Linked DNA regions of Homo sapiens: region 2 is linked to region 1. Evidence: promoter capture Hi-C in human tissues and cell types (Jung and others, 2019). All regions are on one chromosome and are shown on one strand. The core of a region is centred on a gene start or on the middle of the fragment in contact, and the rest is flanking DNA. Distances in the headings are between cores, read along the strand shown. Region 1 holds the start of ZNF471 (zinc finger protein 471). Region 2 overlaps ZNF583 (zinc finger protein 583).

Region 1 (5,400 bases), core at 1,427-3,926:
CCTGAAGTTCCAAAAGTTGAGAATATCATATTCTGTCCCAGAAATTAATTTGTAATCCAAATTCACCTGGTCACCAACACTGTTGTTAAATTTGATATTCTTCAGAAAGGAGTTAAGCTTAAAAATAGTGCACTGTTACAGGATGGAAAGAGTTCTGAATTTGGAAAGAAGAAACTTGAATTAGAGTAATACCTTTGAAACTTATTAGATGTGTGGCTTTGGAAAAAGTCCCTTATTGTTTAAATCTTCAACTGTAAAGTTAGTTATTCAATTTTATTTTTACAAGAATTATGTGAGATAATACCTTTGATGGCCCATGAACAAAAATGTGGTATATATAAAGTAAAAATTAGATAAAGAAAACATTATATATGTAATGTAATGATAATTTAATATATAGTATGATAATGGAAATACCCCTTACTTCCTTGGTGGGATGAATGAGGACAGAAGAATCAAAATAATCTCTTGTTATTGGTTGAATTTTGTCTGCCCCAAATTTTGCATGTTGAAGTCCTAACTCCCAGTACCTCAGAATGTGACTGTATTTGGATATAGGATTTTTACAGAGTTAATTAAGTTGAAATGAGGTCGTTAGGGTGGGTCCTAATGCAATCTGACTAGTCTCACCATGTCTCCATGGGTTTTCTCTGGGTACTCCAGATTCCTCCCACATCCCAAAGATGTGCACAGTAAGTTAACTGGTATGTCTAAGTTGTCCCAGTCTGAGTGAGTGTGGGTGTGTAGTAGGCTACACAATCTAGGTTTGTGTAAGTACACTCTATGATGTTTGCACAACAAGGTTCTTAGGAAATTGCCTAAGAACCCATTTCTCAGAATGTATCTCCATCCTTTAGCGATGTAGACTGTATTTCCATACTGTAAATAGTCCCCTTGTGGTGGATTTCAATCTACCAATATGACATCACTGAATGTGGAGTTAGAAAGAAAGGTACAGTTCATGGCTCTCAGTTCCTACAGCTCTTTTAATTTCCTAAATGACTGCAGCAATAAAGTATCTTTTGTTAAAATATCTGGCCTTTTGTTCCTGGTTCCTGAAAAAGCTCCAGAACAGCTCCAGAGCCATAAAGGTGAAAGACAGTATTTCAACCACACATGAGTTTATGTTAATGAGGTGATTTTTGGAAACTCTCAAGATAATCCCAATATTTGGGGGGAGTGGTGGCTAGTTGCCAGAGGAACCAGCCATGTGCTCAGAGGACTGGAACTCACAGCTCCACCCTCTACTTCTGGGAAAAGAGAGAGCCTGAAAATTAAGTTGATCGCCAGTGGCCAATGATTTAATCAATCACATCTACATAATGAAACCTTGAAAACCGAAAAGGCCTGAGTTCAAGCGGCTTCCAAGAAGGTAGACAAAAACACATCCTCGTGCTGGGAGGGTGGTGCACCCCAACTCCACGGGCACAGAAGTTCCTGCACTAGGGATTCTCTCGGACCTTGCCCTACATGTCTCTTCATCTGGCTATTTGTATCCTTTAAAATATCTTTTATAATAAACCAGTAAACATAAGTGTTTCCTTGAGTTCTGTGAGCTGCTCTAGCAAACTAATGGAACCCAAGGAGCCGGCTGTGGGAGCCCCAATTTATAGCACATCTCTCTGAAACACAGGTACAACAATCTGGAGTTTGGAATTGGCATGGGAAGTGGGGGACAGTCTTTTGGGACTGAGCTGTCTAACCTGTAGGATCTGATGTTTTCCAGGTAGCGTCAGAATTGAATTGGAGTAGCGGTCACCTGGCTGGTGTCTGCTGCAGACAGGTTTTTTTGACATGTTAAGACATTATAAGAGACAATAGAAAAAATGTATACGATACAACCTTCTCTGAGTTATATTTCTCCATAGCCCTTTTTACTGTTCATCAGACTGTTTATCTAACTCATGAATTTGTGGCTTGTCTCTCTCCGCTTCAAAGTAAATTACATAATAAGAGGACAGGGATTTTTTTTTCTCTGCTGTATCCCCCTGAATTGCTTTTCCTTATTTGTCTCACCTTCCAATACTAATTCTACAGTTCTCCTAGTCAGGGCTAGTCCCCTAAAACGGGGACCATTTCCATTTTGTTAAGGGGCTGAACGCGGTTCAAGCCTAGCAGATTGGTTCCAAAAACGTCGTGTTATTCACTGCCTCTGATCAGTGACATTCCCATTTGCAGCTGAAAGAGGTATTAATTCGCCAGAGTCACAACACGGTCGGGGTTCCTCGTCGCTGTCTTATTCCAAAATAAGCTTAACACAGAAAGATAATGACACTCCCACGGACTGGCACAGAAGGCCGCGCTCCGAATGACATCGCGATCACAGAGGCACAGACAGCGTCACAAAGCCCCACGCGTACTCACACCGAAGGCTCAGCCGTCGCGCGTTTCCCTCCCAGGCCCCAGGAACTAGTAACTAGGGACGCTTCTGGTCTCTAGGCGAGGAGAGGGGGAGAGCGCAATCTTTGCGCCTGCGCACACTCCTGCTCTTACCCGCCGGAACCCTGGGCCACGCCCGGCTCGCGTAATCACGCACTGCGCAGGCACCGCCCGCTCTGCTCTAAGGTCCCTCTCACTCCTTCAGCAGCCCGAGGACAATCCCCTCAACACTAGGCCACGCCTTGTCTCCGCCCCTCTCGTCCGACCCCTGGAGAGAGGCTGGCGCCTGCGCGATGGGGGGTTCCAGCGTCGACTCACGGAGTCCTTCGGATGAGAGCGTCTGGGTGCCAGACGAGGCCGGGGGTTTGTTTTGGGTGGTTTGGGAGTCCGAGCTCGAGGGCTGGGCCAGGAAGGGCAGGCGAGGCGGGCGGCTCCGACGCGGGTCGCGAAGGCCCAGCCGCGTCCTCTGTCCCCAGGACGACTACATTTCCCAGAGGCCAGCGGGGCGCGCGTACTCGAGTCTGCGGGGCGGAGGCCGCGGCTCGGGGCTGCTGGGCGTTCGGGGCGGCTTGGGGCGGCGGGACCACTGGAGTGAGCTGTGGGAGAGATGGGGGTGTGCCTGTGTGTAAAAGATCTGTCAGAGTGTGAGGCTCCGTGAGAGGGTGTGGTTTCTGTGTGTGTGTGTGTGTGTGTGTGACAGACCGAGAGTCCAGTGTGAGACCAGGGTATGTTCGTGTGTGACAGAGCGAGACGGGCCAGTGTGAGAGACCAGTGAGTGTGAGAGAGATAGGGATGTGCCTGCATTTGAAAGAGAGCGTGTGAAGCTCAGTGAGAGGTTGCGAGGTGTGTGGGTGTGTAAGTGTGTAACAGACCAGGTGTCCAGAGCGTGAGACCAGGATGTATTCGTGTGAGAGAGTGAGACGGGCTGGATGGAGTGTGAGAGACCAGTGAGTGTGAGAGATGGGCGTGTGCCTGTGTGTGAAAGGCCGGTCGGTCGGTGGGTGAGGCTCAATGAGAGGCCGGTGTGTGTTCGAGAGAGAGAAGAATCACCATGTATGCGAGACTAGACTGTGCAAGAACAGAGTGTGAGACTGTGGTATGTTAATGTGTGAAAGGGAGACCAGTGAGTGTGAGAAATGGGTGTTTTGGGTGAAAGACCCGTCAGTGTGTGAGGCCGTGTTATGTGTGTCTGACAGACTGAGAGAGACCAGAGTGTGAGACCAGGGTGTGTTCGTGTGTGAGAGACAACATAGCGTGAGACCAGTGAGTGTGAGAGAGATGAGCACGTGGCTGTGTGTGAAAGACCAGTCATTATGTGAGGCTCCTTGAGAGGCTGGTGTGTGTGTATGAGAGAGAGAAAGAGACTAAACTGTGAGAGTCCAAAGAGTGAGACTAGGTTATGTTGTTATGAGTTTGTGAGAGAGAGGGAGGCGATCAAAGTATAGGACAAAGTTATGTTTCCTGGCTTACGACTTCTAAGATCCTTGGAATCTCCAAAGTATTAAGTGTCTTTTTGCATGCTAATGATTGGTGGGCTGGCAGCCTGTAGGTTGATCACGGTAAGGGATGGTCACAAGAACAATCTAGGCAGGATTAGAGGGTTGGGATTACCTGCCCCATCCCTCAATCTCCAGGGAAAGGAAAGGGAGCCACAGGTTAAACTGATCATCAGTGGTCAGTGATTTAACCAGTCATGCCTACATTATGAAGCTTCCATAAAAACCCAAAAGGACTGGGTTCATCAAACTTCCAGATAGCTGAACACTGGAGGTTCCTGTAGGATGAGCCCCTTCCTATATAACCTTGTCCTATGCATTTCTTCACCTGCATCCTTTGTAATATCCTTTATTACTACAAACGTGTTTCCCTAAGTTCTGTGAGCTGCCCTAGCAAATTAATTGAACGCAAGGAGGGGGTCATAGGAACCCCGATTTATAGCTAGTCAGAAGCACAAGTAAAACAACCTGGGGTTTGCAACTGGCATTGGAAGTGGGGAGCAATTTTGTAGGGCTGAGCCCTCAACCTGTGGGATCTTATGCTGTCTCCAGGTAGATAGTGTCAGAATTGGGTTGCCCTAGAGGTCACCCACCTGGTATTCACTGGGTTGCCCTAGAGGTCACCCACCTGGTATTCACTGAAGAACTTATTGCTTGCCTGGTGTGTGTGTGTGTGTGTGTGTGTGTGTGTGTGTGTGTGTAGATCCCCACACATCTGGTCTTAGAACTGTTTTGTGTTGTGTGAGTGGAGTAGGAGAAACAGTTTGTTTTTCCTCTTTGTCACCTGAGTGTGTTATCAGGGACTGGATTGTGAGAATCCAGAGTGTGAGACCAGGGTATATCAATGTGTGAGAGAAATAGATGTGCCTGTGTGAAAGATGAACAAGTATGAGGCTCCCTGGAGTCTGAGAAAGATCATGTGTGTGTCTGAGTAAAAGCAAGAGACTAGACTGAGAGTTCAGTGATTGGGAGAGACTGGGGTATGTTGGTGTGAGTGTGTGAGAGACCAATGGGTATGTGAGAGACTAGAGTATGTCTCTGTCTGGACTGGTAGGTTGTGAGAGGGTGTATCACAGTATGAAAAAGATTGGAGTGAGAGTGACCAGTATGTATTTTGTGTGCATGAGATAAAGCAGTTGGAATATGAGAGATCAGAGTGTGTTTGTGTATCTGTGTGAGACACTGGAGCATTTGAGTAACTGAGGCCTCTTTGAAAGATACCATTGAATGTGTATGTATGAGAGACCATCATGTTTATATGTGTGAAAGAGGGAGAGAAAGACTAGTGATGTGGTTGTGTGAGAGACCAAAATGGGTGAGAAAGAAACTATGTGAACCATGGTGTGTTATCCAAAAGGCTTTACAAATATAACCTCTGTGAGGTTGTGAAGCATGCATGTGTGAGTGAGACAGAGATAAGGGACAGTGAGCTGTGTGTGTGAGAGAAGTAAGATTGGGGGTATGTGTGAAGGTGTTGGTGAATCACCACGTGTGCTTATATTCATGTCCTCAGGCAATGGAAATG
Region 2 (5,400 bases), core at 1,570-4,069, 82 kb before region 1:
AAAGAAATCCTTCCAGAAGTTCAAAATAAAGAATATAACAAATCTTGGCAAACATTCCACCAGGATACAATCTTTGATATACAACAGAGTTTTCCCACCAAAGAAAAAGCACATAAGCATGAACCACAAAAGAAAAGTTACCGAAAAAAATCTGTTGAAATGAAACATAGGAAAGTCTATGTAGAAAAGAAACTTTTGAAATGTAATGATTGTGAGAAAGTCTTCAACCAGAGCTCATCCCTTACTCTTCATCAGAGAATTCATACTGGAGAGAAACCCTATGCATGTGTTGAATGTGGGAAAACGTTCAGCCAGAGTGCAAACTTGGCGCAACATAAGAGAATACATACTGGAGAGAAACCCTATGAATGTAAAGAATGTAGGAAAGCCTTCAGCCAGAATGCACACCTGGCCCAACATCAGAGAGTTCATACTGGAGAGAAACCTTATCAGTGTAAAGAATGTAAAAAAGCCTTCAGCCAGATTGCACACCTGACTCAGCATCAGAGAGTTCATACTGGAGAGAGACCTTTCGAATGTATTGAATGTGGAAAGGCCTTTAGTAATGGTTCATTTCTTGCTCAGCATCAGAGAATTCATACAGGAGAGAAACCTTATGTGTGTAATGTGTGTGGGAAAGCCTTTAGCCATCGTGGATACCTAATTGTACATCAGAGAATTCATACTGGAGAGAGACCCTACGAATGTAAGGAATGTAGGAAAGCCTTCAGCCAGTATGCACACCTTGCTCAACATCAGAGAGTTCATACTGGAGAAAAACCTTATGAATGTAAAGTATGTAGGAAAGCCTTCAGCCAAATTGCATACCTTGATCAACATCAGAGGGTTCATACTGGAGAGAAACCCTATGAATGTATTGAATGTGGGAAGGCCTTTAGCAATAGTTCATCACTTGCACAACATCAGAGAAGTCATACTGGAGAAAAACCCTATATGTGTAAGGAATGTAGGAAAACATTTAGCCAGAATGCAGGCCTTGCTCAACATCAGAGAATTCATACTGGAGAGAAACCTTATGAATGTAATGTTTGTGGGAAAGCATTTAGCTATAGTGGATCTCTTACTCTACATCAGAGAATTCATACTGGAGAAAGACCCTATGAATGTAAAGATTGCAGGAAATCTTTCAGGCAGCGTGCACATCTTGCTCATCATGAGAGAATTCATACTATGGAGTCATTCTTGACTCTTTCCTCTCCCTCACCCTCCACATCAAATCAGTTGCCAAGACCTGTAGGTTTCATCTCCTGAATATTTCTGGAATCCACCTCTTGAATCCATTTCCATCCCATCATCCTTGTCCAATGCACATTAATATATTTGACATGGGATACTCGAGTAGCTTTCTAATTGGTCTCCTTGTACTCACCATTGTCTCTGTCAGATGTCCACATTGCAACCAAATTTGTATTTTTAAAAATATGTTTAATCTCATTTCTCCCTCATTAAAATCCCTCAGTGGCATCCCATGGTTTTTAAGTTAAAGCACACATTCTTCAAAATAGCCTAAAAACCTAGCCTCTAACACCTTGTTCCAGGTTACCTTCCAAAGTTTCTATCTTGTGTCACTATCCATCTCATTCTCTGAATACTTATCCAGGATTAAGATACATATTCCAGGATCAAAAAGACCTGGGTTCCAATCTTTGCACTTCCATTTCCTGCCCTCTAATTTGGGGGCAGCAGTTTGTGCTTTGTAAGCTTCAGTCTTATTTATAGTGTGGGAATAATAATGGTTCTACCTCAGAAGTTAATAGAAGAATGAAATAATGCATGTAAATTGCTCAGCAGCGTGCCTAGCATAAAGTAATTACTCAAACCATAATGTAAAGTAAAAAGATAACCATACTATACATAGAAAGCCAATCATCTCAGCCATGATTATCTCAGAAATAAAAAGAGATGCAGCAGCTCAGGACTGAGAGATTGTGAAGTTTTTTTTTTTTTAGGAATGGTAGGCATTTTTCTAAAAGTAGGTGAGGAGGGTATCTAACAGTAGGATTTACATTAGAGTCCATGATATAGGGTAAGATGGTGGCTTGTATCAGCATTCACTGGATATTTAACAGTTCTAAGATGCTAATGTCTTATTTTAAAAGTCTTTTTTTTTGAGATGGAGTCTTGCTCTGTTGCTCAGGCTTGAGTGCAGTAGTGCAATCTTGGCTCACTGCAACCTCCGCCTCCTGTGTTCAAGTGATTCTCCTGCCTCAGCCTCCTGAGTAGCTGGGATTACAGGCCTGCACCACCACGCCCAGCTAATTTTTGTATTTTTAGTAGAGAGAGGGTTTTGACATGTCGGCCAGGCTTTTCTCTAACTCCTGACGTCCGGTGATCCGCCTGCCTTGGCCTCCCAAAGTGCTGGGATTACATGCGTGAGCTACCGTGCCTGGCCTAAAAAGTCATTTTTAATAAGACAGTTTACTGAGATGTATTCATCATTTACATGTAAACAAAGGCAAAATCGAAATTAAAAAGAAATCTTGAAACAAGTCAGTAACCAATGATGAGTAGAAAATAAAGTATAAGTTTGAACCCCTGTTCTAAATCTGGGTGAATGAATTATATCAAATCTATGTCATTTAAAATAATAAAGGTTGTTAAATTACTAAAATTTCAAAACTAGTGAAGAAAAGAAACCAAAACTGTAGGTCAGTTCTCATAAACTGGCCCACAAACATGTTTGATTCTGTATGCATTAAGTTTAAAATACATATGAATACCTTCAGCAGACCATGTGTTTTCCCTTTCTCCAACATTCAAACCACTCCCTGATTCTTTACATCTGACCTCTTTTAATATTACTTCCTGACCCCAGAATTCTTTTGGCATATAATCAATGCAGTGATCAATTCACATGTGACTATAGATACAAACAGAATGACGAAAGTTTAATGGAGGATGAAAAAGAAGACAAATAAATATTTTATCCTTTATATGGTAAGACAGATTCACTATCATACTGATGTCAGTAGCCCATGAATTAATTTACAGATTCTACCTAACAAAATTCTAATAAATTTTGTAAGGTTTTAACATGTATGTGTGAACATACATATTCATGCTGTTACACATATAAAGAAAATTATAACAAAAGTGACCTATACCATCAGTGGTTTAACAGTTTTGGAAAAATTTATCGTGCTCTATACAACAATTCATTCCATATGTGAAAGTTACTTTCAAGTGCTTTATCTAAATGTGGAACAAACAGTGATTAGAGGAGTCTGTGACACACTCTAATCATGGAATGAGACTGGCCTTCCTAAACATGAGATTCAGAAGCCTCCCCACCTCCTGTCAACAAGTCATAGATTTGACTGTATAAGAACTTTATAAAGCTTTTATATGATCAAAGATAGTAAAAGATACAATATTTTTTAAACCTAAGAATGGGAGAAAATTATTGCAGCACATATAAACTATGGAATTCATATCCTTAACATAAAATTGCTCATAAAAATCCCTTAGGAAATGACGCTTTTCTCCAGCTCATAGTCAAAGGATATGAAGAGGCAACAGGTGACCAATAAATATGTGGTAAGTACTAAATCTCCCTAGGATCAGAAGAAATACAGTTTAGGCCAATGAAATACTATTTTTTTCAATATCAGATTAATAAAACTGCATTGAAAGCATACAAAAAGAGATACTATGCACTAATTTAAAAGAGCATGAGTTTGTACAAACTCTGGTAGGCAATTTGTCAACTTCAGAATTTTAATTGGGAAAAGTAGAATTTTATTTTGAAGTTCAAAAACTCGGCACACAATGTCTTTCCCTCCAGATTCTATTATACACATAGAACAATGTAAATGATTCTTAAAAAAAAAAAAAAGGTGAGGCTTTTGAGTGGATGAAATAATTTTGTAAAAGGCAAAACAGGGAAGAGTGTTCATGAATTGTAGCAGAAGATGCTGCATGTTATATGCGAATGACCGAAGGGTTTTAAAAATGGAATCTAGTCTGCCCAAAGGATCCCTAGAGAAGTTCAGGCTTGGAGTTGGCTTATGTACAGGCTGTGGCTTCTAAGAAGACATGATGAAAAGCCTCTTGAAGCCTTTGTATGTGAAAGTTATGTCAGTAGCCCTTGCCAAAAGCCTCCTCACTCTCCCCTCTCTTGTATAAGTAAATTGAATGGGATCCTTATTTCACACCATTAACAAGTATAAGTTCTAACTGAATAAAAATCTAAATGTAAATTACTAAAGCAAAAGTATTAGAAAAAATATAGTGGGATATGTTAACGACTTTGGTGTCAGACACGTGTTTCTAAAATATTCAAATACCATAAAGGAAAAGATTGATAAAATTGACTGTGTCAAAAAATAGTGTGCTTTGGCTGGGTGCGGTGGTTCACACCTGTAATCCCAGCACTTCGGGAGACTGAGGCAGGTGGATCATGAGGTCATGAGTTCAAAACCAGCCTGGCCAAGATGGTGAAACCCCATCTCTACTAAAAATACAAAAAATTAGCTGGGTGTGGTGGCAGGCATCTGTGATCCCAGCTACTTGAGAGGCTGAGGCAGGAGAATCACTTGAACCATGTGGCAGAGGTTGCAGTGAGCCAAGATCATGCCACTGCACTCCAGCCTGGGCGATAGAGTGAGACTCTGTCTCAAAAAAAAAAAAAAATTATTGTGCTTTTGGCCAGGCATGGTGGCTCACGCCTGTAATCCTAGCACGTTGGGAGGCCGAGGCGGGTGGATCACCTGACCTCAGGAGTTAGAGACCAGCCTGATCAACATGGTGAAACCCTGTCTCTACTAAAAATACAAAATTAGCTGGGTGTGGTGGGGCTACCTGTAAACCCAGCCACTTGGGAGGCTGAGGCAGGTGAATGGCTTGATCCCAGGAAGCAGAGAATGCAGTGAGCTGAGATCGCGACATTGCACTCCGACTTGGGTAACAAGAGTGAAACTCGGTCTCAACAACAACAAAAATTAGTGTGCTTTTAAAGAAAGTTAAAAGATAAGCAACAGGAAGGAAGAAACACATAACGGACACATGTAAGAACACATATAAGTCAATAAGTAAAGGACAACTAAGCAAGTATATAAATGTGCAAAGATGAGAATGGCCAAATTGTGGAAGACATACAGATGTCTAAGTCTCTGCTTAACCTCATTAGTATTAAGTTATGCAAATTTGCTCATTTATTATTTATTTATTTTGTAGAGATGAAGTCTCACTTTGTTGCTGAGGCTGGTCTCAAACTCCTGGGCTCAAGTGGTCCTCTTCCCTCAGCCTCCCAAAGTGCTGGAATCACGGGTGGAGAGATTCAAATTGAGACAGTATAATACCAGATATTGGTCGTGGTGTGGAGACAGGATTTCTCATCACAGCTACTTTAGAGGCAGTGAAGTTTTTAAAATGCTCACT

What was found. Contacts are between HindIII fragments. The study calls those that stand out against the background at their distance.
Region 2: a fragment that was not itself captured here is called in contact with the fragment with the promoter of ZNF471 in region 1 in 3 of the 25 tissues and cell types used here (adrenal gland, spleen and thymus).

The regions. Positions count from the first base shown.
Region 1 is chr19:56,505,179-56,510,578 of GRCh38, forward strand. It overlaps ZNF471 (zinc finger protein 471), which reads left to right and starts at 2,677. Exons shown (of 5, transcript NM_020813.4): 1 at 2,677-2,742. The HindIII fragment of the contact is 4,462 bases long and covers 1,185-5,400 here.
Region 2 is chr19:56,423,097-56,428,496 of GRCh38, forward strand. It overlaps ZNF583 (zinc finger protein 583), which reads left to right. Exons shown (of 5, transcript NM_152478.3): 5 at 1-4,268. The coding sequence ends at 1,272. Among named protein-coding and RNA genes, the nearest start is that of ZNF583, 21 kb to the left of the region's middle. The HindIII fragment of the contact is 4,229 bases long and covers 706-4,934 here.